7 separate regions of the Homo sapiens genome follow, and regions 1, 2, 3, 4, 5 and 7 are each linked to region 6. The links are contacts of gene promoters, found by promoter capture Hi-C in blood cells and fetal thymus (Javierre and others, 2016). All regions are on one chromosome and are shown on one strand. Each heading gives the region's core, a stretch centred on a gene start or on the middle of the fragment in contact. The rest is flanking DNA. Distances are from core to core; before and after follow the strand shown. Region 1 overlaps CAB39 (calcium binding protein 39). Region 2 holds the start of ITM2C (integral membrane protein 2C). Region 3 overlaps GPR55 (G protein-coupled receptor 55). Region 4 overlaps CAB39 (calcium binding protein 39). Region 5 overlaps CAB39 (calcium binding protein 39). Region 6 holds the start of SLC16A14 (solute carrier family 16 member 14). Region 7 overlaps CAB39 (calcium binding protein 39).

Region 1 (3,106 bases), core at 234-2,733, 750 kb after region 6:
ATATCAGATTAGACCTATGTGTTTGCACCCATCTTTGTTGGCGATCTGAGTGCAGTGTGGCAAGTGCACACCTGGCATCCCTGCGTCAGATCGCGCACCTTCAGGTCGCGCACCTTCGCTGAAGGAAGATGACGCAGAGCTTTATCTGAAATCAGAGGGGAGCTATCCAAAATGGGAGTTTGGGGGCAGCTAAAGTTGACATGCGAATAAATTGATACTGAAACTTAGCAACTTCTTAAAAGTGTAAAGAAGCCTCATAAGATCATAAGGAAAATGTATATATGCTTTTCACAGCTTTCTAGAATTTTTTGACATTTGATTTTCTTGAGACTTGTAAACCTGGATATGTTGAAGGGTATTTGTTAATTTTACTTTTCAAAGATACTTTAAAACAGTAGAGCTAGCAATGACACCTTGCATTTCATTTCAACACTGCTTCAAGGTTTCTTTTGTATATAATTCTTAGAATGCTCATTTCTTTTAAATGGTTTAATTTGTACAGCAGAGGAATGTTATTGTAGTAGTATGTAACTATTACCTAATACTGAGTTTTTGCAAAAAACAATGAATGCTCATATGTAATTGAAATACTTCAGATCACATGAAAATGCTGATTTAACATTTAAGTATCACAGCATTAAAAGAAAAAGAAAGTAAACCAGTCCTTTGTATTCAGTTACCTAATGGGGTGCCATCAATAAGCTGCGATACAGCCCTGGAGCTCAGTCAGCCACACCTTCCTGCATCCTATTGGCCTTATTCATTTTAAATGAGTTAATGAATCTGCCAGATCTGTGAATGATAGAGATTATGCTAAATTAATGCTGATTCTTTGTGTGTGTGGGAAATCTCTGTAGAGCACCTTTTCTTTCTTAGACTAAGTAACCCAGTACAATAGTTGTGAACTGAATAATTAAAACTTTGGCTTCTCTTAGGAAAAGACGACTTCCTAGTCATAGGTGTCCTATGGGGAAATTTATTTTTTTTAATGTCCTGTTCCTTAATGCTGCAAATTATCAGTATTTATAAAGTAACTGATTTTGCACCACTTTTTTGTTACTGTGACCACGGCAGAACAATGTCTTCTAGACTATATCTATGTAAAGTTATTAGAATGGTATCTGTTCATTTTAGTGATATGAAGATCACAACTAACAACTGACAAATCAGAGTTTGCCAGTTCAAATTCAGCATGGCTGCAGCTGATTAAGAAATTGATATGATTATTCTTTGCTAGCCTCTCTTACTAATGGAATTATATACTGGCCAGTAAAATGGGCCTCCCAATTGCTGTTTCAGCAGGTTTTAAACCTTCAGGAACACCAGTTAGGAAAATAGCTCCAGAAAATATAGATATATTTTATTTTTATTAAAATGGCAGTCTACATCATAATTGGCATTTCTCAAGACTGTCTTTACCAGAATCTGTGTGAAATAAGGCAATCTAGTCTCCTTGAAAAAAAAATCTCTTGGATGTTTAGGAAGGAAGACTTGGCCGTGATGTGGTGTCCTGGCTTTGTGGTGTAGTGCTGTGTGTATGGAGTTAGTGTAAAAACATGGATTACACCAAGTGGAAGAAACGTCTTCTTGCCAAGCTCATTCTTAGAACTTACACATCTAGAACAGCTTCCACTTTGGCAGTGAGGTCGTAGCCTTTTAGGTGGAAGAAGTGAGGGTGCAGCGTGTCAGACACAACATTCATGTTACTCTTACATTGGAATCTGAAGGTAGTTCAGACTTCGTGGGTTTTGTTTTTAAGCAAAACAATGTGAAAACATTTAAGTTTGAAATGTTGCATTTGAAGTTATGATCATTTAATATATTCATATTACCAAGACTATTATACTGGAAGTGGTTTTTGTGTTATAAAGGTTTAATTTTACATAAGGCAGTTACTTAATGTGATTTTTAACCCTTAAAAAAGTGGAGATGTATACATTTGTTAACAATGCCATGAAAGCATTTTCTTTCTCCTAAGGAAAAGTGAATTTCTTATCAGAATATCTGGCTGGCCCTGTAATTTAAATTAAAATAAAATTTTGGAGAAACAGCATTGTCTGTCTTTATGATGTGTTATAGACAGTTGCATTTGTGTTACTGTGAACAGCTTCATCAGGAGACACACAAGCCCGAATTTTATCACCAACTGAAAGTGGAGGGACAGTTAACACCCATTCCTGTCTGCCTTTTTCCCTGTTCAGGGGCTTCACTTCCCCCCCACCGCCCCCGTGCTCATGTTTTCCTTACCCTTCCTGAGTAAAATCACACCTTTTAATGGTACCATTTCTTAGACCCTAACGTTTGAGGAGTAGATCCTCTCTTGCGCTGTTAGCAACACCGCGAGGCTAAACTAGAACACTCGGCCCGGAGTATTCACAGGTTACTGATGTGAAATGATCATGAAGGCGAGGGGACCGTGGAAGCAGGCACAAGAACTCTGGCACCGTAAAGAATGTCCCTCGTCTGCCTTCCAGGGTGCCTCGTAATCCTTAGTTCACAGCCCTGCCCTCGACTTTAACCCCTGTCAGTAAATGAAATCTTATTCTCTGGAGTGAAGGCAAGGGACATGCTCTTGCCAAAAACACTTCATCCGAATAACAATGTCCTATTTGTTATTTCTGTCAAGTAGTTCAGTCTACTTGTACGTTGTAGTTCCCCAAAGGTGACAAGGGCCCATTAAGTCATAACTTGTGACTTGGCCACTTATAAGGATCACCAGGCTGAGGACTGGATTCACGCTTCAGCTCAAATTCCACTTCCTACCACAATCCCCCATCAAATGCCCTCCTCCCCTTGCCAAAGAAGCTCCAGAACGTTGCACTTCAGGCAGCTCAGGAGTAGTGCAGTTCTCACCCAGCCTTCCTAGTTAGGCTCCAACAAGGTCCTGATCGGGAAGTGCTCTGAGGCTGCAGTCAGTGCCCAATACCTTGTTCATGCTGGAGGTTAGAGCCACTCACGGTCATGAGAAAGCCCACCTGCCAACGTGCCAAAGTTGTCCTTTAGGGGAAGAGCGGGCAGCCCAGCACACACCGCCCTTCAGGTACTCCCGGATGTGTCAGGAATCTTCTCCCTGGCCATGGCTGTGTCCTCACTGACCATCTGGTTT
Region 2 (3,374 bases), core at 492-2,991, 800 kb after region 6:
GTGCTCGCCTGCCAATCTCAGGCATGTGGATGCTTCACCCAGGTGGCCCTGTCTTGCTGACCAGAGATTTGTGCCAAACCAGCTCTGCGACCCTGGGTTTAGTCATGCTACCTTCTATCACTATTAACATGAGGCTAATGTGTAGGTCACAGAGGCTGTGATGAAAATTAAATAATTGAATGCACGTGAAAGAATGCCACTCATAGAAGGTTTCACATGACCACATCCTTGGTGGCTGGGTTGTGTCTTGGGCATCTCTGTTTTCTGCCACAGAGCTTAACACAATGCTTGGCACACAGGGGTGCTTGGAAAACACTGAGTGAAGGAATGCATGTTGGGGGTGTGGCCTAAGCAAGACGTGGAGCTTGCCTTCTCCAGACACCAGGTTTCCCATGGGATCTGGAGCAGGTGATGAGCGGTAGTCCATAACACCTTCCTCTCTGGCTCTGTGCCAAACCAGATTCCTCCTCGTCTCCTCCAAACCATCTGTCTTCTTCCACCTCCCCATTCCCTCCCCCCAGTTCCCCAGGCTGGTGGCCTTAGCATCAGTTAGACTTTCTTCTTTCCCCACCTGTCTGTCCTCAAGGTTGCTAGGTTCATCCAAGATCTGAGCCAAGAGGTCCGGGTCTGGGACGTGGGCGCTAAGGGCCCAAGGCAGCTGCAAAAGACCTGAAAGGTGAGAAGAGAGATCAGTGGAGGACCCCGGACTGTCCTCAAGAAGCGGACGGACTCCCCTGCCCTCCACTGGCAGCCCAACAGCAGAACCAAAGCGGACCACTCAGCACAACCTGTGTGTGTTGCTGGGCGCTGTCCCTGGCCCAGTCTGGACCAGGAGCAAAGAGGAAAGATTCAGGGCGTTAGTGCCAAGAGCAGCCATCCCAGCAACAGAAGCCCCTGCTTCCCCAGTACCCGTGATACTTGGGAGGAGCAGAGTCTTGAGTGGAACCCGAGCCTCTGACACCCGCCCTGGGGGTCTTCCCTCCACTCTCGCCAGGGTCCTCCTGGATGAGTGAGACAAGGGCAGTTCAGGAGGTCACCCAATAACTGAGGTCGCAGCAACACGAAGGAGCCAGGGAGCAGGGGCGGCCTTCCCTTCTCCACTCCAGGCGGCTCCAGCGTGCACCCCAGGACCCCCCAGGAAGGTTTTGCAGGAATAAAGAATGAAGGCAGAAGCAAGATGGAGGATGAAGGAGGCGTGGATGGCTTCAGAAGGCAAGACGGAGGCAGCAGTTTGGCGCCTGTCTCAAAGCCTCCTCCCCGCGCCAAGGACAGGTCGGAGGAGGGGGGCGTGGGGACAGGTAGAGCGGAGGCTCCAGCGTTTCTAAAGGGGAAGACCTGAAGTGGGGCAGGAGAGACGGGTGAGTTGTCTGGAAGCTGCATTTGCCTGGCAAACACTGGGTTAACAAAGACTTGCGTTGCGGGGATGCTGGCCTTGGACAGGGAATGCGAAGGGATTATGCTACGGAGAACGGATCCGAGCGTGACGGCTGAATGAATGAGTGAGCGAGTGAGTGAGTGAGTGAGTGAGCGAGCGAGTGAGTGACTGTGCGAGCGAGCGGCAGAAGGAACTCCGACCCGCCCCAGGTGCGGAGCGGCGCGCCCGGCAGGGGTCACTGCGGGCCCCGCGGGCGGGAAGGGGGCGCAGGCGCGGCGGGCGCCGGGGCCCTCCCGCGGGGACGGGGCGGGGAGGGCTGGGGGTGGGGTTAGAGAGAGGGACGCGAGCGGGATCCAAACTTCCGGTGCCTGCAGAGCTCGGAGCGGCGGAGGCAGAGACCGAGGCTGCACCGGCAGAGGCTGCGGGGCGGACGCGCGGGCCGGCGCAGCCATGGTGAAGATTAGCTTCCAGCCCGCCGTGGCTGGCATCAAGGGCGACAAGGCTGACAAGGCGTCGGCGTCGGCCCCTGCGCCGGCCTCGGCCACCGAGATCCTGCTGACGCCGGCTAGGGTGAGAGGGTCTGGGGCTCAGGCGGTGGGGCGGGGGACCCAGGCTCACGACCCAGGCGCGCCCCGTCGGCCCTGGGGACTGCCCGAGGCGCGTCAGGGCCCCAGAGCCCGGGGTGGAGCAGGGTTGGGAAGTCTCGAATGGTTGCTTATCCCAGAATGAGGAGGGGGCTTAAGTCCCGTACTAAAGCGGCAGCCAAAAGCTGAAGTCCGAAGAGTGGGAGGCGTCTGGTTCTGGTCTTCAGGTGGAGAAGTGCTCGAGGTCTCTTCCAAAAGTGGGGGCCCCCTCGCCGCCTTATAGGGGGAGGGGGCTGGTCCGAAGAAGTTCGAGGAATGTTGGTGGGGGGGTACGCGTCTGGTTCCAATCAACTGGGAAAGCCGCGAGTCGAGTCCCCAGGTGGGGGATGGGAGGAGGGTTAGACGTAGTTTTTCCAAAGTAGGGCGGTGGGACCTGATTGGCTGGGGAATTGGGGGTGGGGGGGTCTGGTACCAACGAAGAGGGTGGGGCCGTTGATTTCCTCCGAAATTGGGGGCTGCGAGGGACAGAGGATGTGCTGCTGGCCTGCACCGGAATTGACAGACCAGAAAGTGATGAAATGGAAATCAGCCAGAACCGACGGCGCTGCGGCCTCTGGACGTCGGGGGTCCGAGGCCGGGTGCCCCCTTCCCACCCCACGCCCTGCCGTCTGGGCCTCCCTGCTCCCCTCTCTTTTCTCCATTCCCAGCCTCTCGCTGGGCTGTCCCCCGACCCCACGGGGAGGGCTCCCAACTGCCCCAGTGCCCTTGCATCCTGGGTCCCCGGGCTCTGTGCGCGTTCCCCCACCCCTGTCATCCCCCTCCCCTACCCCGGCTTCCTCCACTTTCCCTCTGGCCGGGGGGGAGAGAAGGCATTTCCGCCGTGGAAAACTGTCTGAGCTGCGTGCCTTGTGTCCGGGAAGGGCCCGCAGGGGGCAGAACGCGTGGCGGGCAGGGACAGGGAGGGAGGGAGAGCTGGCCCAGCCAGGTTTTATTGTGCCTGGCAAAGGTGTCTACGTGGGCGCCGCCCCCAGCGGTCTTGTGGCTTACCAAGCCCATGTCCTCCCCGCCTCCCCACCCCGCATTGAGGCAGGACTGAGAAAGTCTTTGTCCACTGCTTCCCCACTTCCAGATGCAGGCTTCTGAAGAGTCTTCCTGAACGCCTAGCCCCCTCCCCAGGTTTTGTGGCTCAGGTTCAGTCTTGCCTGGGGCATTAAGGGGCCTGCAGAGGATGACCTGGACCCTGGAGGAGGGGGCGCCGGAGAGGGCCGTCAGAGTTGGGTGTCAGCCTGGGCAGAGACCCTGAGTGAGGAATGCCAGGAGACTGAGAACCCCCTGCCCTTTTATGGTGGTCACTGCAGCAACCAGTGGCTCAGAGCCACAAGAGTTCAACAACCACCTAGGCGAGGTTGGGGGTT
Region 3 (3,304 bases), core at 766-3,265, 840 kb after region 6:
TAGTTCATTGGTTCAGGGACAGATATTTGACTCTCCAAGAAGCCATGATAATCAACACAACTTTTGCTTGGGTTTCCAGGCAGAGGGTTGGAGTCCCTTGTCAGGGATTCATAGTTGCCAAGATATAAGGTCTGCAGCTGCTGCAGCCTCTTGTACCCCAAAGAGAAAACCAGACAGAAAATGGAGAGATATGGGAGAAATGGCATTCCCAGAAGGAATGGAGCGGGGCCCTGAGGTCTCCACAGGGCAAGGAAAGGCCTTTTGTCGGGCAGAAAATTAGAAGTGGCCTCAGGGACGGGAGGACCAAGGCTGCAGGTGTGGTTGCACAGGGGTGTGGTCCGAGCCTGGTCAATTTGGGGTGAGGGGGTGAGTGCCATTGTGGGGTTCTGCATCAAGGTATGTAGCCCTGGAGCAGGAAAAAACCAAGTGTTCAATCCAGGCATCCAGAACCAGGTTGCTAGAAGGACTCAAATACGACCCAACTTCCACCCTCTCCCCACTTGCCCGCCTCTGCCCACCTCCCTGCTCCCTCCTTTCTCACCCACTCTTCCCTCTCCCCACATGTGAGGCCATGCTGCTGGTGTACTTGACTTGGACTGGCCTTAGACATGGAATGTGCCACATTCACTAGAGCACAGGGGCATGGCATGGAAAGGACATTTATGCCTGGCATCTTCCTTAACCACTTCGGCAGAAAGCAGCTGGGTGAGCAAGTGCGGCCAGGTCCTGCCGTGAGACCCACCTTCCTGTGCCTCTCCCACCTCCCATGACTTCCTGGCTAGCAGGTGCTGAGATCCCAAGATATCGATGTATCAGGGAGGAGACATCAGCATGGACTCCCACCAGAGAATCCCATACTAGTGACCACTGCAGCTATTTATTTTTATTTTTATTTTTATTGTTTTTGAGATGGAGTCTCACTCTGTCACCCAGGCTGGAGTGCAGTGGCACAATCTTGGCTCACTGCAACCTCTGCCTCCCCAGTTCAAGCGATTCTCCTGCCTCAGTCTCCTTCATAGCTGGGATTACAGGCATGCACCACCACGCTCACCACCCCTGGCTAATTTTTTGTATTTTTAGTAGAGATCAGTTTTCACCATGTTGACCAGGCTGGTCTTGAACTCCTGACCTCAGGTGATCCACCCACCTCGGCCTCCCAAAGTGCTGGGATTACAGGCGGGAGGCCCCGCACCTGTTCCTAAAACTTCTGTTATTAATTAAAGCTTCTGTTATTATTTTTCATAGCTTTTTATTAATTTTAAAAGTATTCCAGGCGCTCAATAAGATATTCGAAGAGAACAAAAGAACAAGCGTAGGAAAGTCAGCCTCCTTGTACCCTAAGGCCTCAACTGTCCTTTTCAAAGGCAGCATGGCTTACAGCTTCTTGCATATTCCTCCCAGACATTTTCTAAGTAGATACATATATGCAAATATATGCATGCATACATATACATGTATGACTTCTTTAAAATTTGGAAATAATATACCTAGAGCCCCTGTCCCTTGCTTTTTCGCTCATCAATGTTTCTTGGACATTGGTCTATATCAGCATATATGAATGGCTTGTTTGCCTCCCATTGTGTAGGTATACCAAAACTCATTTAGCCAGTAGCTTATTCATAAACATTTAGGTTTCCAGTATTTTACCAGGAAACAATGAATTCCACAATAAGCATTCCTATGACTTATTTCTTTGCTGTGCAGCTATTGCTAACAGAATTCTCATTCTGCTATTGTTTCTCATCACTATTGGGCGCCCGTGGGAGGAAAAAATTGGGGTGTGTTTTAAGATCTTATATGTAATACCATTCCCAAGCCCTCTCTGATCTCTAATGAAAAAGAAAATCGATATATATAGATAGATGTTTATAGGTTCATATATATATCATCCATTGAGCACTACGCACTAAACATTTAACATACATTACTTGATTTGGTGGCTTTCCAAAGATTCTATGGTTTCCAATGTGTTAACTTTTCTCACAGATTTATGTAATGAGAGATCTAGGAAAAAATACTTCCTCTTATTCAAAGCCTTGGTGTCCTGTGGTCTGTGGGGATGGTGCCTCCTAGGGGTGTGTAGGAGTAACTGGTCCTACTCAGGATGCTCAGAATCTGCAAGGTGGGGTGGCCGCCTCCTCACTAAACATGCTGAAATGGCCACAGGCCTAGCTCAAAAAATTACTGGAATAGCTTGGAACTCACAAGGCAAATTTCAAAAATGATGAGAAAAGCAGGTCAAAGCCCAGTTCAAGTCTAAATGTAAAATGTTGCAACACCAAAGAGGAAGATGGAATTGGCTTGGAGAAGTTGTCTTCAAGACCAGAAACAGCAGAAAACCAAGAACCACAAAGATAAGAATGAATACAAGTTTATGTTTAAAGAGATCCAATAAGATTTTGAAAAGGGAACTGAGGACATCTGTCTTTGTCTGGGTCACACTAACCAATTAAGAAAAAGGAGCCACCAATGACAAAAGCTCAACACTCAGAGGCCCTTACTGTCAGCTGTTACCGGCCAACTGCATGGATGAATCCACCGTATTGCTGGTGGTTCAAAGTGGCCAAGAAAACAATCGGTGATGCTCAAAGTCCAACCCAAACCCAGACACAGTGTGTGGCTGAATTGGGGGAACAAACGAATAACAACGGGAGGAAAGTGATCTGACAGAAAGCACACAACCTCAGGTGCTGGGATGAGTCTCCATTGACAGTAGCAGGTATATTCATAGACACAATTTGGCCATCAGTATTCCCCGGTAGGATTATTCTAAAGGTCACATTTGAATTACCGACAGACTTCAAATGGAAGCTTCTCAGAGGGTAGTCTTTGAAGCCAGAGAAGGCACTCTATGGGCTGGCAAGAAGAAATTAGGTTGAAAAAATACTGCCGGCTAATGGCAGAGTGAACAGAGAATCTGAAAAATTAATTTGAATTCCCTCTGAAAGTCCAAGGAAACCATCTTTTTAGAGTCTTTTTCAAAAAAATCAGAAGCCTCACTGTAGTAAGATAAAAAAAAGGCATCAATGCACTCCAAACGGCAGCAAGAGATGAAACAGTCATCCTTCTCAAAGAAGTTTGCTAATAAAAACCAGTCTACTTGTGGGTGGGGGAGGGGAACGGGGCGGGGGGCAGCAACTAGCACCATTTGCTACTTGTGGGGTGTGGGGCCATTCCATTAGCAGCTCCTGTTCTGGCCAACCCAGGGGTCCACCCCAATCAAGCAATGGTACTGTAGTTGGCTGGGTGGGAGGTTGAGTCCCCTCAGGTCCCCTGAGAAGCAGATGCTAAGACAATGCTAGAC
Region 4 (3,060 bases), core at 535-3,034, 730 kb after region 6:
CTCCCTGAAAGAAACTCCAGTCAGGGAAGAAAGGAAGACCAGCAGGAACAGCCTTACAGCTGCACACCAGAGGCGCTGACAAGGAGGGACACGTTGCTGCTCCTCTCCTGTCTTGCTGCTAGTCTCCTGTTTGCAGAGCATATTCTTATAATGGAAAAGAAGAATAGATCTATGGTTCATGCTTTCCTTTGAGAATGTGGCAAGAGCGCCCTCCCAGAAAACGTGCTCTGCACACAAAAATTTCCAAACATGTGGCTCATCCATAGCCCTGGAACAGGTGCTGAGTCTTTAAAGGAAATTAGAACTGCTCTAGGCCAGGCATGGTGGCTCACGCCTGTAATCCCACCACTTTGGGAGGCTGAGGTGGGTGGATCACCTGAGGTCAGGAGTTTGAGACCAGCCTGGCCAACATGATGAAACCCCGTCTCTACTGAAAATACAAAAAATTAGTTGTGGTGACATGCGCCTATAGTCTCAGCTACTCAGGAGGCTGAGGCATAAGAATCCCTTGAACCTGGGAGGCAGAGGTTGCAGTGAGCCGAGATCACTCCACTGCACTCCACCCTGGGCGACGGAGTGGGACTCTGTTTAAAAAAAAAAAAATGCTCTAAATATGTCCAAAATTCATAGCTTGAATAAATGGATGCTCAGATAGTAAACCAGATGGCCAAATATTTGTAAATTTTTTTTTCTTTTTTGAGGAATTAAGGAGATGGAGAGGGGCATTAGAAAGCCAAAAATGTTTCCAATGTTCTAGAATAAAAGAAGGTAGCCTCACCAGACTGTGCCTGTGTAAGGTTCTAGAAAGTATGTCTAAAGAGATGGTTTCTGCCACTCAAAACCACACAACTACATGGAAACTGAACAACCTGCTCCTGAATGACTACTGGGTAAATAACGAAATGAAGGCAGAAATAAATACGTTCTTTGAAACCAATGAGAACAAAGACACAACCTACCGCAATCTCTGGGACACATTTAAAACAGTGTGTAGAGGGAAATTTATAGCACTAAATGCCCACAAGAGAAAGCAGGAAAGATCTAAAATTGACACCCAAATATCACAAAAGAACTAGAGAAGCAAGAGCAAACACATCCAAAAGCTAGCAGAAGGCAAGAAATAACTAAGATCAGAGCAGAACTGAAGGAGATAGAGACACAGAAAACTTTTCAAAAAATCAGTGAATCCAGGAGCTGGTTTTTTGAAAAGATCAACAAAATTGATAGACCGCTAGCAAGACTAATAAAAAAGAAGAGAGAAGAATCAAATAGACGCAATAAAAAATGATAAAGGGGAGATCACCACCGATCCCACAGAAATACAAACTACCATCAGAGAATACCATAAACACCTCTATGCAAATAAACTAGAAAATCTAGAAGAAATGGATAAATTCCTGGACACATACACCTTCCCAAGACTAAACCAGGAAGAAGTTGAATCGCTGAATAGACCAATAACAGGCTCTGAAATTGAGGCAATCATTAAAAGACTGTCAACCAAAAAAACTCCAGGACCAGACGGATTCACAGCCAAATTCTGCCAGAGGTACAAGGAGAAGCTGGTACCATTCCTTCTGAAACTATTCCAATCAACAGAAAAAGAGGGAATCTTCCCTAACTCATTTTATGAGGCCAGCATCATCCTGATACCAAAGCCTGGTAGAGACACAACAAAAAAAAACTTTAGACCAATATCCCTGATGAACATCAATGCGAAAATCCTCAATGAAATACTGGCGAACTGAATCCAGCAGCACATCAAAAAGAGTATCCACCACGATCAAGTGGGCTTCATCCCTTCGATGCAATGCTGGTTCAACATACGAAAATCAATAAACATAATCCGTCACATAAACAGAACCAAAGACAAAAACCATGTGATTATCTCAATAGATGCAGAAAAGGCCTTTGACAAAATTCAACAGCCTTTCGTGCTAAAAACTCTCAATAAACTAGGTATTGATGGAACGTATCTCAAAATAATCAGAGCTATTTATGACAAACCCACAGCCAATATCATACTGAATGGGCAAAAACCGGAAGCATTCCCTTTGAAAAGTTGCACAAGACAGGGATGCCCTCTCTCACCACTCCTATTCAACATAGTGTTGGAAGTTCTGGCCAGGGCAATCAGGCAAGAGAAGGAAATAAAGGGTATTCAATTAGGAAAAGAGGAAGTCAAATTGTCCCTGTTTGCAGATGACATGATTGTATATTTAGAAAACCCCATCATCTCAGCCCAAAATCTCCTTAAGCTGATAAGCAACTTCAGCAAAGTCTCAGGATACAAAATCAAGGTGCAAAAATCACAAGCATTCTTATACACCAATAACAGACAGAGAGCCAAATCATGACTGAATTCCCATTCACAATTGCTACAAAGAGAATAAAATACCTAGGAGTGCAACTTACAAGGGATGTGAAGGACCTCTTCAAGGAGAACTACAAACCACTGCTCAACGAAATAGAAGAGGACACAAACGGAAGAACATTCCATGCTCATGGATAGGAAGAATCAATATCATGAAAATGGCCATACTGCCCAAGGTAATTTATAGATTCAATGCCATTCCCATCAAGCTACCACTGACTTTCTTCACAGAATTGGAAAAATCTACTTTAAAGTTCATATGGAACCAAAAAAGAGCCCGCATTGCCAAGACAATCGTAAGCACAAAGAACAAAGCTGGAGGCATCACACTACCTGACTTCAAACTCTACTACAAGGCTACAGTAACCAAAACAGCATGGCACTGGTACCAAAACAGAGATATAGACCAATGGAACAGAACAGAGGCCTCAGAAATAACACCGCACACCTACAACCATCTGATCTTTGACAAACCTGACAAAAACAAGAAATGGGGGAAAGGATTCCCTATTTAATAAATGGTGCTGGGAAAACTGGCTAGCCATGTGTAGAAAGCTGAAACTGGACACCTTCCTTACACCTTATACAAAACTTAATTCAAGATGGATTAAAGACTTAAATGTTAGACCTAAAACCATAAAAACCCTAGAAGACAACCTAGGCACTACCATTCAGGACATAGGCAT
Region 5 (3,273 bases), core at 105-2,604, 690 kb after region 6:
AGATAATATTTTCAGAGGACATATTGTGAGTGTGATACACTGTTTATGGAGAAGCAACTTGCATGCTTCCCCCCCACCCCCTGCCGCCCACTCCCCTGCCCAAAGGAAAAAGTAATGATCCAGGAAAAGGAAAAGAATGATCCAGGCTTTGTGTCCCATCTGGCTTGTAGAGCGATCATATGACAGCTAGTTAAGAGTGACTCCCCTAACGTCAGTTCAAACTTTTAGGCATAGAAAAGTTATTTAGAAGTGGACTTAAAGATCCTTGGATTTTATGGCTGGGCATGATGGCTCACACCTGTAATCCCAGCACTTTGGGAGGCCGAGGTGGGTGGCTCCCTTGAGGCCAGGAGTTGAGACCAGCCTAGCCAACATGGTGAAAACCCATCTCTACTAAAAATACAAAAATTAGCTGGGTTGGTGGTGCACACCTATAGTCCCAGCTACTTGGGAGGCTAACGCTGAGGCACAAGAATCACTTGAACCTGGGAGGTGGAGATTACAGTGAGCCAAGATTGCGCTGCTGCACTCCAACCTGGGTGACACAGCGAGACTCCAAAAAAAAAAAAAAAAAAAATCCTTGGATATTTAAGAACCTATGACAAAGGATATGCATTAAACTATTTCTCTTTGGTTAATTTTGTCAAAAAAGGATTTACAAGGTGACAGAAGGTAAGATAGGCAATATTTGGGGTTAGAGATTGGTTGGAACAGTTCACATCAGAACATGTTGAGAAATAACATACTTGTTTATGATTTAGTTGTAGGCTTGACATTAGCATTCATTTGCATGTTTTAAACATTCTTTATAAACAAATATGTAAGTCACTCTATTTCAAACTTAAGGGAAAAACACTCAAGTTTGTTCATCAAATCTTAGGTAAAGCTCAAAAGAAGTGTTATGATACTATGCAATGGATGTATTTTTGTGTTTATATAGAAGGGGAAAACAAAGTGGGGTTGGGGTGTCTGAGAGCCACCTTTTCTTGGGTGTGTGTGGGGAGCACCTTGGGCAGTTAAATATAGGATGTTGAAACTTACAGTCAGAAAACCACTGATCTAAGTGATCCATAAGGTTTTTCTAAAAAGTGTCATCTTTCGGTGTCTGATAGGAGACTGTTTAGTGCCTGTGAATTTAACTACTTCTAGTTTTTTTACTGAAAAATGGTAACTTCCAACATGTTCCCAAGTCACTTCCATTGTTTGTCTTGTTAACTTTGTTTCTTCATAGTGCCTTCTTGGAATAGTTGCATGTTCTCCTTTTGGATGATGTAATACTGTGGTTTATGTGGTTGAAATGTTGTTTTCTACTACCCACAAAAAATTAAGAACTTCTAGAAGTTCATCATCCTCAGGGTTTTATCCAGCGAGTTCTTTCATAGGAGATGGTCAAATCCAGGCAAAAAGAGTACATCTTGACAACTGTCACATAGGGGATTACAGGATCTAATGGGAGATTTTATTCCCCTGTCCAGGCTTCTCTCTAGCTCTGAGACCCTGTGACTGCCTGAATAAGATGGGTGTGCCGAGGAAGTGTGTGCCATATTCAGGGCAGCCCACTGGGGTGCTTAGGAGGAGCAGCGTGAACACCGGGAAAAGAGCATCTGGAGAGACCTAGATAGTAGGCTGTTGCTAGTGCTGTTTGGCTAAACACCCTACCTAACTTTTTGCCTCAGTTGCCTCAGCTGTAAAATAGATACTATCAATTTGATGTACAGTGTGGTGATTAAGGACGCTTTGGATCAAGACAGATCTGAGCTTGTTTGACCACTTAGTACCTTGAGCCTCACGCTCAACCTTGCTAAACTTCACCAGTAAATAGGAGCAGGAGATTGTTAGAAAGGGTTTCATGAAATGATGAGTTCTAGTGCTCAGCATCAGGCCTGGCAGTAGCAGTTGCCCTGTGAGTGGGAGCTGCTGCTCTCTACCTCAGCAGCATCAGTCAGCATGTTCGTCCCCATTTGCGTGGTTAGGAGAGCAATTGATTTGAAGGAAAGAAAAACAAAGTGTTTTGAAAAATACAGTGTTCTGTAATTCTAAGACATCTGTGTATTATCATTTCTTGCATATATTTGTGGATTTCCCTGTTCCTACTGATTTTGAAAGTTATGTAAAATGACTTGCCTAAACACGGGTTTTCTTCCCAGATTAGGATTTAGAAAGTCTGTCTTCCGTTGATCCCAGTGTTTGCTCACATGAACCTTGTGCTGTGTTCTAGGTAGCACAGGCGGAGTGCAGCGGAGGCCCCTGCCGCTGCCGTCATGCCGTTCCCGTTTGGGAAGTCTCACAAATCTCCAGCAGACATTGTGAAGAATCTGAAGGAGAGCATGGCTGTTCTGGAAAAGCAAGACATTTCTGATAAAAAAGCAGAAAAGGTATGGATTTGGCTTTATTTATATTTGAAATATCTTAATTAGCAAATGCAAGACACCTTATATGAGGAATCAGTAAGTCCCAATTTGGGTTTATTTTGGATTTTAAAAATAACATCCAAAAGCAACATATGCTGCTGTTGCAACATACTTTTTCTTCTGTATTTTCGTCTAACAAATAGATTTCTAACTGTTCTGTCAGGTTTTCGAGTTTATTTAAATTGTGTTTATTTCATCTTGAAGTGTTTGATTCTAATTTATTTATTTATTATTACTAATTATTTTTGTAGAGACAGGGTTGTGCTATGTTGCCCAGGCTAGTCTCAAACGCCAAGCCTCAAGCGATCTTTCCGCCTCTGCCTCCCAAAGTGCTAGGATTACAGTTATCAGTTATCTGCTTGGTTGGTTTGTTTGTAAAAGTTTTAGAGCAAGAACAAAAGGAAGTAAAGTATACTTGAAAGAAGGCCAAGCAGGCAACTTGAGAGCTATAAGTGCCACAGTTACCTGATTCTTGAAATCGGTTCTTCCCCCACAATCTTCCTGGGAGGACACCCCTCCTGGTTTTCTTCCTGTATTCAGTGTATCCGTGCCAAATGCCTCCATCTACCCAGTCACCACAGTCCAAAACCCAACTTTCATCCCACTTGTGACTTGCCCTCTCTTCCCTAAAATATAATTTTTCACTAAATCTTGTTCAACTCCCTAAATTGTTTATGATTCAGTTCTGACTTCCATTCCTTCTTGAAGAAGTTGTTCATACTCTTTGTGATTTTAGCAGTAGCCTTCTTACTGCACTTTCTAAAAATCTCTGCTTTACATTTTCAGTGTAGATTCTTCTTGTAACACACAGGATCTTCGTGATCTGATCTTTATTTCTCTAAGTAAATTGTAGAGGTTTAGT
Region 6 (3,352 bases), core at 678-3,177:
CGGGAAGCACGAAGCTAAAATTGAAATTACAGTCTTCCCCAAAGCTACGCAGAGCGTGGTGGTAGCGGCTCTGCATCCCACGCAGGTGAGTGCGGGCTTCACCTTTAATTCTGCTCTGCAGGCGCTTCCGCGCTCTTCACCTGGTGTGTACAGGGCATTTGGGGCCTTTAGAGGGCGCACTTGCGGCCAGCAGGCTGAAGAGGCTGCCGCGGAGAAGGCTGGGGAGCGGAGCTGAGCTGAGCTGGTGCAGACAGCATAGGAGAAAAACAGAACCGAAAAATTCACACCGAATTAGGAGGACTCAACACATACATGCTTCGCTCTGGGTCAGGGACTGTGCTTGGTGGCTTCTCCTCCAGTCCAATTGGCATGAATGTCCGCATTTTACAGAGGAAGAATCTGAGCCATCAAATGGGAGCAATGAAGCTTAGAAAGGTTAAACTAGCAGGCTGTGGAAACCAAATCGGAACCCAGGCCTGCAGGATCCCAAGCCTGTTTTACCTCCTCCCACCCCCAACACTGCCTCTCTCCCCTCTCTTCTCTCTCTCTCTCTCTCTCTCTCTCTCTCTCTCTCTCACACACACACACACAGCCGCACACGCACGCACATGCAAACAAAGAAGCCAGACAAGGCAAAGGAGAATCTCTCTAAGCCCCAATAATGGCCCTCAGTCATCCTTGTTAATGAGCCCGAATCAACTTTTCCTCAGAAAGAAAATGGCTTAATTGGAAAGCAGAGTTCAGCTCCTAAAACATCGTCATGGCCTTGGCAGCGTTTAGCCCCGAAATGGCCGTCCCCGGTCTCTCACCCCATTTCAGCCTCTCTTGAGGAGCCTCAATCGGAAGCGCTAAGGGGGCCCAGCCTCTGCGCGCCCTGGGTGCGGGATCGTGCCCGCGGGGTCCGGCCTCGCGCCCCACCCTTCGAGCGCCCGCCCCCACCCGCGCTCGGTGCTCCCGCTCCCTTGGCACCCCGAGACCACATCCCCACTTCGGGCACCCCGCATCCCTCGGCGCGTTCGGAAGCCAGCAGCCCACCGGGGAAGCTGGGCCGGCTGCAGCACCACAGCCTGTGCAGAGAGGCATCCGCACCCCGCGAAGTCCCTAGGCGCAGCCCCGGGTCCCCCGCTCTGCGCCTCATCACTGTCCAGTTCGAGTCCCAAACGGGCCTAGAGAGCAGCCGGGCAGCGAGGCTGGGCTCCGGGCAGAACGCGCTTCTCCAGCCGGACGGGGGTGCCCAGGATGACGCTCGCGGGGCCCCGGCCAGCTTGAGCAGCAAGGCGCGCGTCCCCAAGCTCCGCCTGGCGGTCTGCCCTGAACCGCCGGTTACCCTGCCCGCCCGCAGCTCCCAAGCCCCCGCGGCGGCCTTGGCACTACCACCTGCCCCGGCACAGTCTCGCCCTCCACCGCCCGGGCAGCCTTTCCCGAGCCTGCCTTGGGCTGGGGCTGCCCCTTCCCGGGGGTCCCTGGGGGTGCAGCGGCCATCTGAAACCTAGGCTCCGATGCCCCCGGCGTCGCTCCATTCCCCAGGCCCGCGGCGCGCGCGGCCTCGGATACTCACCGCCCGAGGCCCGCTGGGCTGCGGCCTCACTCGGCTCCACGCCCGGATCCTCGAACTTGCTGCTCTGCTTGGAGCCCCCTGAGCTGCTGGGTGTAGAGATTTGTTGCAATGTCGCCTATCATCCTGGAGACGCGGGTGCCTGCGGCTCAGCTCTCCGCCCGGCTCGGTGCGCTCTGTGAGGGGCTCCCGGGCTCTTCCGCCGCTCGCTGCCAGGCCAGGTGAGCGTTTGGTGGAGCTGAAAGCTCGACGCCTCAGTCCAGGTGGCTTTAAAACGGGTGCGTTTGGAGGTGCCCAAACCTAACCTGGGCTTCCTTCCAATCGGAGCAATTTCAAATCTTCATGCTCGTTCATTCCTATACCGGCTAATTCTGGTTTGGCAGGGAAAAAAAATGCAGTCACCTCACATGCACACTCTTGTGGCCGGTTGAAGTTTATAGCTTTGGCTGAGGTTCCGCTAAGGCGCTGCACATTTATCACTGGCGGAAAGGTCCTGAAATCTAATCCAGGATGCAAGTGAGACTAGCAGTAGCCTCCATTTCTCTGAGATGGGAGAGAAGGGATGAAACAGACCCTCACTGAAATATTTTTGGCCAAAGAGGACTCAAAGTCCCTTATTCTCTCTCTTTTAGAGACACGGGTTTCACTATATTGCCAGGCTGGTCTCGAACACTTGGACTCAAGGAATCCTCTGGCCTTGGCCTCCAAAGTGCTGGGATCACAAGCTGAGCCACCGTGACCGGCCAGTCCCTCATTCTTGTTTCCACCCTGGGTCCCACCTCTCCCTGCTCTTTCTGCACGTCCATTACCTACCTTCGTGGGCACCAGGCACAACTTTCATCTCAATACCTCCCTACCTCATTCCCAGCAGGGCACACAACATAGTGCTTTGCCTTGGACAGTTTTCTGTATTATTGAAGTGAATGTGTGAGTCGATGAAGCCTGTGCTGTTTTTTCCCGCCTGAAGGTTTTGCAGTAATTCTCTGCTGCTGTTGTGATAAACTGCCACAGTAATAGCAGAGGAAAACCACACAAATTCACTATTTTACAGTTCTGGAGGTCGGAAGTTTGAAATGGGTCATACTAGGCTGAGATCATGGTGTTGGCCACCTTGAAGGCTGTGTTCCTTCTCGTGGCTGTAGGGGAGAGCCACCAGCTTCTGCAGGCCGCCCACATTCCTTGGCTGGTGGCTCTTCCTCCATCTTCAAAGCCAGCACTGCTGCGTCATTTTGTCTTCTTTCCATACTCACATTGCCTTGTCTCCCCTTTTCTGCCCCCACCCCTGTCCACTTTTAAGGACCCTGGGGATTACATTGAGTCCAATGAGATAATCCAGATAATCTCTCTATTTTAAGGTCAGCTGATTAGCAACCTTAATTCCATCTGCAACCTTAATTCCCCTCTTGCCATGTAAGGTAACAAATTCACATGTTCCAGGGATTAGGATGTGGACATCTTTGGGAGACCATTATTCTGCCTACCACAGATTTCCTTCTTTCTTCTTTTCCTTTTTCTTTTCTTCCTTCTTTTTCGTTTCTTTGAAAAAAAATTCACATGTATTTCACATTGCCTTCCTCGGTCACCCAAGCTGGAGTGCAGTAGCATGATCACAGCTCATTGCAGCCTCAACCTCCTGGGCTCAGGTGATCCTCCCACCTCAGCCTCCTGAGTAGCTGGGACTACAGGCACACGCCACCATGCCTGGCTAATTTTTTTGACTTTTTATAGAGACGGAGTCTCATTATATTGCCCAGACTGGTCTTGACCTTTTGGACTCAAGTGATCTGGCTGCCTCAC
Region 7 (3,269 bases), core at 448-2,947, 720 kb after region 6:
TTTTGTTTTGTTTTGTTTTGTTTGTTTTGAGACAGGGTCTTGCTCTCGCTCTGCCATCCAGGCAGTGGATGAAGTGCAGTGGCACCATCTCGGCTCAGTTCAACCTCTGCACCACTCCCCACCCCCACCCCCCAGGCTCAAGCAATCCTCCCACCTCAGCCTCCCAAGTAGCTGGGACCATAGGCATGCACCACTATGCCCAGCTAATTTTTTGTATTTTTAGGAGAGATAGGGTCTCTCACCATGTTTTTCAGGCTGGTCTCGAACTCCTGAGCTCAAGCCATCCATCTGCCTTGGCCTCCCAAAGTGCTGGGATTACAGGCATGAGCCACTGTGGCCTGCCTCAATTAAACACTTTTAAGGAATCCCTTGACTTCATGGTATGATAACATCACATTTCTCTACATCCATTTGTAATCTGAATTTTAAACCCTGTGATCAGGAATGCTGATTTTCAGCCATTCATCAATAATGTATGAAGCATTTTAAGCAACAGCAATGTCTTAGTCATATTTATGTTATGAAAAGATAATTCTAGGTGTGATGTGGAGAATGCATCCCCATTAGGCCCCCTGCAATCCAAAGAAACCAGTCAGTACACGATATATTAATCTAGGCAAGAGTTATGGGAACTTTGATTTGGGTGGTGATGGTAGACGGGGATAAATGGATGGATTTGGGAGTCAGTGATGAGTTAGCTATTGGGGCGAGGTGAAGAGGGGAGAGTTGAAGATGACTCCTAAATTTCTGACGTGTAGTAACATCATCAGTGGTATCATTACATGAAACGGAACAAGGCAGGATATCAGGCACTAGGGCGAGATCTTGAGTTCTATTTTAGATGTATTCGATTTGAGGTACCTTGAGACATTACGAGTGGAGACATTTTGAGAAGGCTGCCCAGTGGTACTGATAAGGCCTGGGAGAAAAGAACTGGATTAGAGATAGGAATCTATGAGGCATCTGCATTTAACTGTTAATTAAAGCAGTGGGTGTGGATGAGATCACTTAAGAGTCTAGAGAATAAGAAGAGGAAGCCCTAGTACCCTGCCTTGCGGGATTCCCTGTGTTTAAATGGCCTAGCCAAGGTGAATGAGGCAAAAAGGAGACAGAGAAGGAGCAACCAGAGAGTTAGGAGGGAAAATAAGGATGGTGGTGAGTCACGGAGGACCAGAAGAATGGTTTTCAGAGGCGGGTGTAATCAGCAATTCCGAATCCTGTGGAAAGTTCAGGTGTAATTGTTGGGAATGAAGTTTTTGGTGTCGGGAAAAAGAGAAAAAAAGAATTAACGCGGGAAGAAATGATCTCTCAGCAGAGAGAGCTTTACTTTCTGCAGAAAGGGTGCTACTCAATAGTTGTCTGGCCACGAGAGCACACCGAACAAAGGAGACAGAGTTATTTATAACCTGACGTGTTTACCCTACTGCTGTGTCCAGTTTCCATTGGCTGGGATAGGACCTCACATTTTACACTTTATCCTATTGGCTATTAGTTTAAAACTTTCTTAAATAGGTAAGGGGAACAGAACAAAGAAAAGGAAGTTGTCCAGGACTAGTTAAGGAAGCATCTCCAAATAAGGAATGGCATGCACTGTGGGCTCCGGTGTGCCTAATTCTGTCCAGGCATGCTGGAGCAAGCTAGGAGAGCTGATTTGGAATACATACATATACACACTAATAGTGCACAGCAATCTTATAGTAAGAAATTGTGACTTTTCATAATCTTTGAAAAAGAACTTCCCCATTTCTCACAGTAATAAAGACACACAATTGTATTTAATGACATGCAGGTCAGTGACTAGCCAAAAGGATTGGGCTGAAGAGTGAGTGAGGAAAAAGACTTGGACTATGGTAAATACAGGCAAATGTTTTGAGAGGTTTAATTATGAGGTGTGGGTAGTAGCTGGGCAGGGGCGCGTGGGCAGGGGGGCAGGGGGGCAGGGGGCGGTTGTGGAATCTAAGGAGGGCCTATTCGATTTTGTCAAATGGAGTCTTAATCAGGTTTAAAACTGATAGGAAGAAATTAGGTGAGGGGAGATTGACTCTGTGAGGAGGAGGTGAGGTAACAGGCAGGGTGAGTTCCTAAGAACGCATGGGGGTGGGGAGATCCAAAAGCAGATGAGGATTAATGTAGGTGGCGGGTGCAGTATCAGCTGGTGAGGGAATTCCTTCTGAAAGAGAAGGGGGCTTTATACAGAGTCCACAATGCCATTCAATTCAGAAGTACAACAAATAGCTTTCTCTCTCTTTTTTTTGAGACAGGGTCTTGCTCTGTCACCCAAGCTGGAGTGCAGTGGTGCAATCATAGCTCACTGCAGCCTCAACCTCCTGATCTCAGCCTCAGCTTCCTGAGTAGCTGAGACTATAGGTGCATGCCACCACACTCAGCTAACTTTTGTGTTTTTTTTTTAAGAGATGGAGTCTTGGCCGGGCGCGGTGGCTCACACCTGTAATCCCAGCACTTTGGGAGGCCGAGGCAGGCGGATCACAAGGTCAGGAGAGCGAGACCATCCTGGCTAACACGGTGAAACCCCGTCTCTACTAAAAGTACAAAAAATTAGCCGGGTGTTGTGGCGGGTGCCTGTAGTCCCAGCTACTGGGGAGGCTGAGGCAGGAGAATGGCATGAACCCGGGAGGTGGAACTTGCAGTGAGCCAAGATTGCGCCACTGCACTCCAGCCTGGGTGACAGAGCAAGACTCTGTCTCAAAAAAAAAAAAAAAAAAAAAAAAAGAGATGGAGTCTCACCATGTTGCCCAGGCTGGTCTCAAACTCCTAGGCTCAAGTGATCTATCTGCTGCAGCCTCCCAGAGTGCTAGGATCACAGGCGTGAGCCACCACACCCAGCCATAAATAGCTTTCTAATTATGTTCCTGTCTCTCTCTTTCCTTCCTTTTTTTGGGGGGTGGGGTGGGGATGGGGGGAACAGCTTTATTGAGATATAATTTACATGCCGTATAGTTCACCCATTTGAAGGGTACAATTCAGTGGTTTTTAATTTATTCACAAATATGTGTAACCATAACCACAGTTAATTTTAGGACATTTTGTCACCTCACAAACCTGTACCCTTTAGTTATTCACCTCCCTTCTTTCTTACTCATCTTTTGCTGTCAGAATAGAATATGGTCTGAATTCAAATTTGAAAATCATATAATAAAGTATAAACTGAGGTACATGAAGAATTGTTAAGAGCTTTAAAACTTTGATCTAACCAGAGAAGCAAAGGAGGCTGAGGCCTCCTACTTATGGTCACTGGTGTAGAATCAATA

The links. Contacts are between HindIII fragments. The CHiCAGO score rates a contact against its expected background, and 5 or more counts as called.
Region 1: a fragment that was not itself captured here is called in contact with the fragment with the promoter of SLC16A14 in region 6 in 3 of 17 cell types (neutrophils, naive B cells and total B cells); the score reaches 6.0 in neutrophils.
Region 2: the fragment with the promoter of ITM2C here is called in contact with the fragment with the promoter of SLC16A14 in region 6 in 1 of 17 cell types (total B cells); the score reaches 5.9 in total B cells.
Region 3: a contact is called between a fragment that was not itself captured here and the fragment with the promoter of SLC16A14 in region 6, in 1 of 17 cell types (total B cells). The highest score is 5.4, in total B cells.
Region 4: a contact is called between a fragment that was not itself captured here and the fragment with the promoter of SLC16A14 in region 6, in 1 of 17 cell types (naive B cells). The highest score is 6.2, in naive B cells.
Region 5: a fragment that was not itself captured here is called in contact with the fragment with the promoter of SLC16A14 in region 6 in 3 of 17 cell types (total B cells, naive B cells and total CD4 T cells); the score reaches 10.0 in total B cells.
Region 7: a fragment that was not itself captured here is called in contact with the fragment with the promoter of SLC16A14 in region 6 in 2 of 17 cell types (naive B cells and total B cells); the score reaches 7.2 in naive B cells.

The regions. Positions count from the first base shown.
Region 1 is chr2:230,819,023-230,822,128 of GRCh38, forward strand. CAB39 (calcium binding protein 39) reads left to right here. Exons shown (of 9, transcript NM_016289.4): 9 at 1-2,053. Among named protein-coding and RNA genes, the nearest start is that of ITM2C, 44 kb to the right of the region's middle. The HindIII fragment of the contact is 3,617 bases long and covers 1-3,106 here.
Region 2 is chr2:230,863,201-230,866,574 of GRCh38, forward strand. It overlaps ITM2C (integral membrane protein 2C), which reads left to right and starts at 1,742. Exons shown (of 6, transcript NM_030926.6): 1 at 1,742-1,945. The coding sequence starts at 1,826. RefSeq lists enhancers at 426-1,084, 1,743-2,401, 2,402-3,058 and silencers at 1,492-1,861, 1,962-2,051, 2,842-2,941. The HindIII fragment of the contact is 7,451 bases long and covers 1-3,374 here.
Region 3 is chr2:230,911,542-230,914,845 of GRCh38, forward strand. All of the region lies in intron 1 of GPR55 (G protein-coupled receptor 55), which reads right to left. Among named protein-coding and RNA genes, the nearest start is that of GPR55, 12 kb to the right of the region's middle. The HindIII fragment of the contact is 1,588 bases long and covers 1,222-2,809 here.
Region 4 is chr2:230,801,278-230,804,337 of GRCh38, forward strand. All of the region lies in intron 5 of CAB39 (calcium binding protein 39), which reads left to right. Among named protein-coding and RNA genes, the nearest start is that of ITM2C, 62 kb to the right of the region's middle. The HindIII fragment of the contact is 4,096 bases long and covers 1-3,060 here.
Region 5 is chr2:230,757,741-230,761,013 of GRCh38, forward strand. CAB39 (calcium binding protein 39) reads left to right here. Exons shown (of 9, transcript NM_016289.4): 2 at 2,219-2,375. The coding sequence starts at 2,262. Among named protein-coding and RNA genes, the nearest start is that of CAB39, 47 kb to the left of the region's middle. RefSeq lists an enhancer at 1,180-1,279. The HindIII fragment of the contact is 5,262 bases long and covers 1-3,273 here.
Region 6 is chr2:230,066,997-230,070,348 of GRCh38, forward strand. It overlaps SLC16A14 (solute carrier family 16 member 14), which reads right to left and starts at 1,928. Exons shown (of 5, transcript NM_152527.5): 1 at 1,559-1,928. The region is part of intron 1 of LOC107985995 (a long non-coding RNA gene); the gene reads left to right. RefSeq lists enhancers at 636-1,406, 1,802-1,921, 1,932-1,991 and silencers at 782-1,031, 1,302-1,571. The HindIII fragment of the contact is 4,045 bases long and covers 425-3,352 here.
Region 7 is chr2:230,783,459-230,786,727 of GRCh38, forward strand. All of the region lies in intron 2 of CAB39 (calcium binding protein 39), which reads left to right. Among named protein-coding and RNA genes, the nearest start is that of CAB39, 72 kb to the left of the region's middle. The HindIII fragment of the contact is 5,725 bases long and covers 1-3,269 here.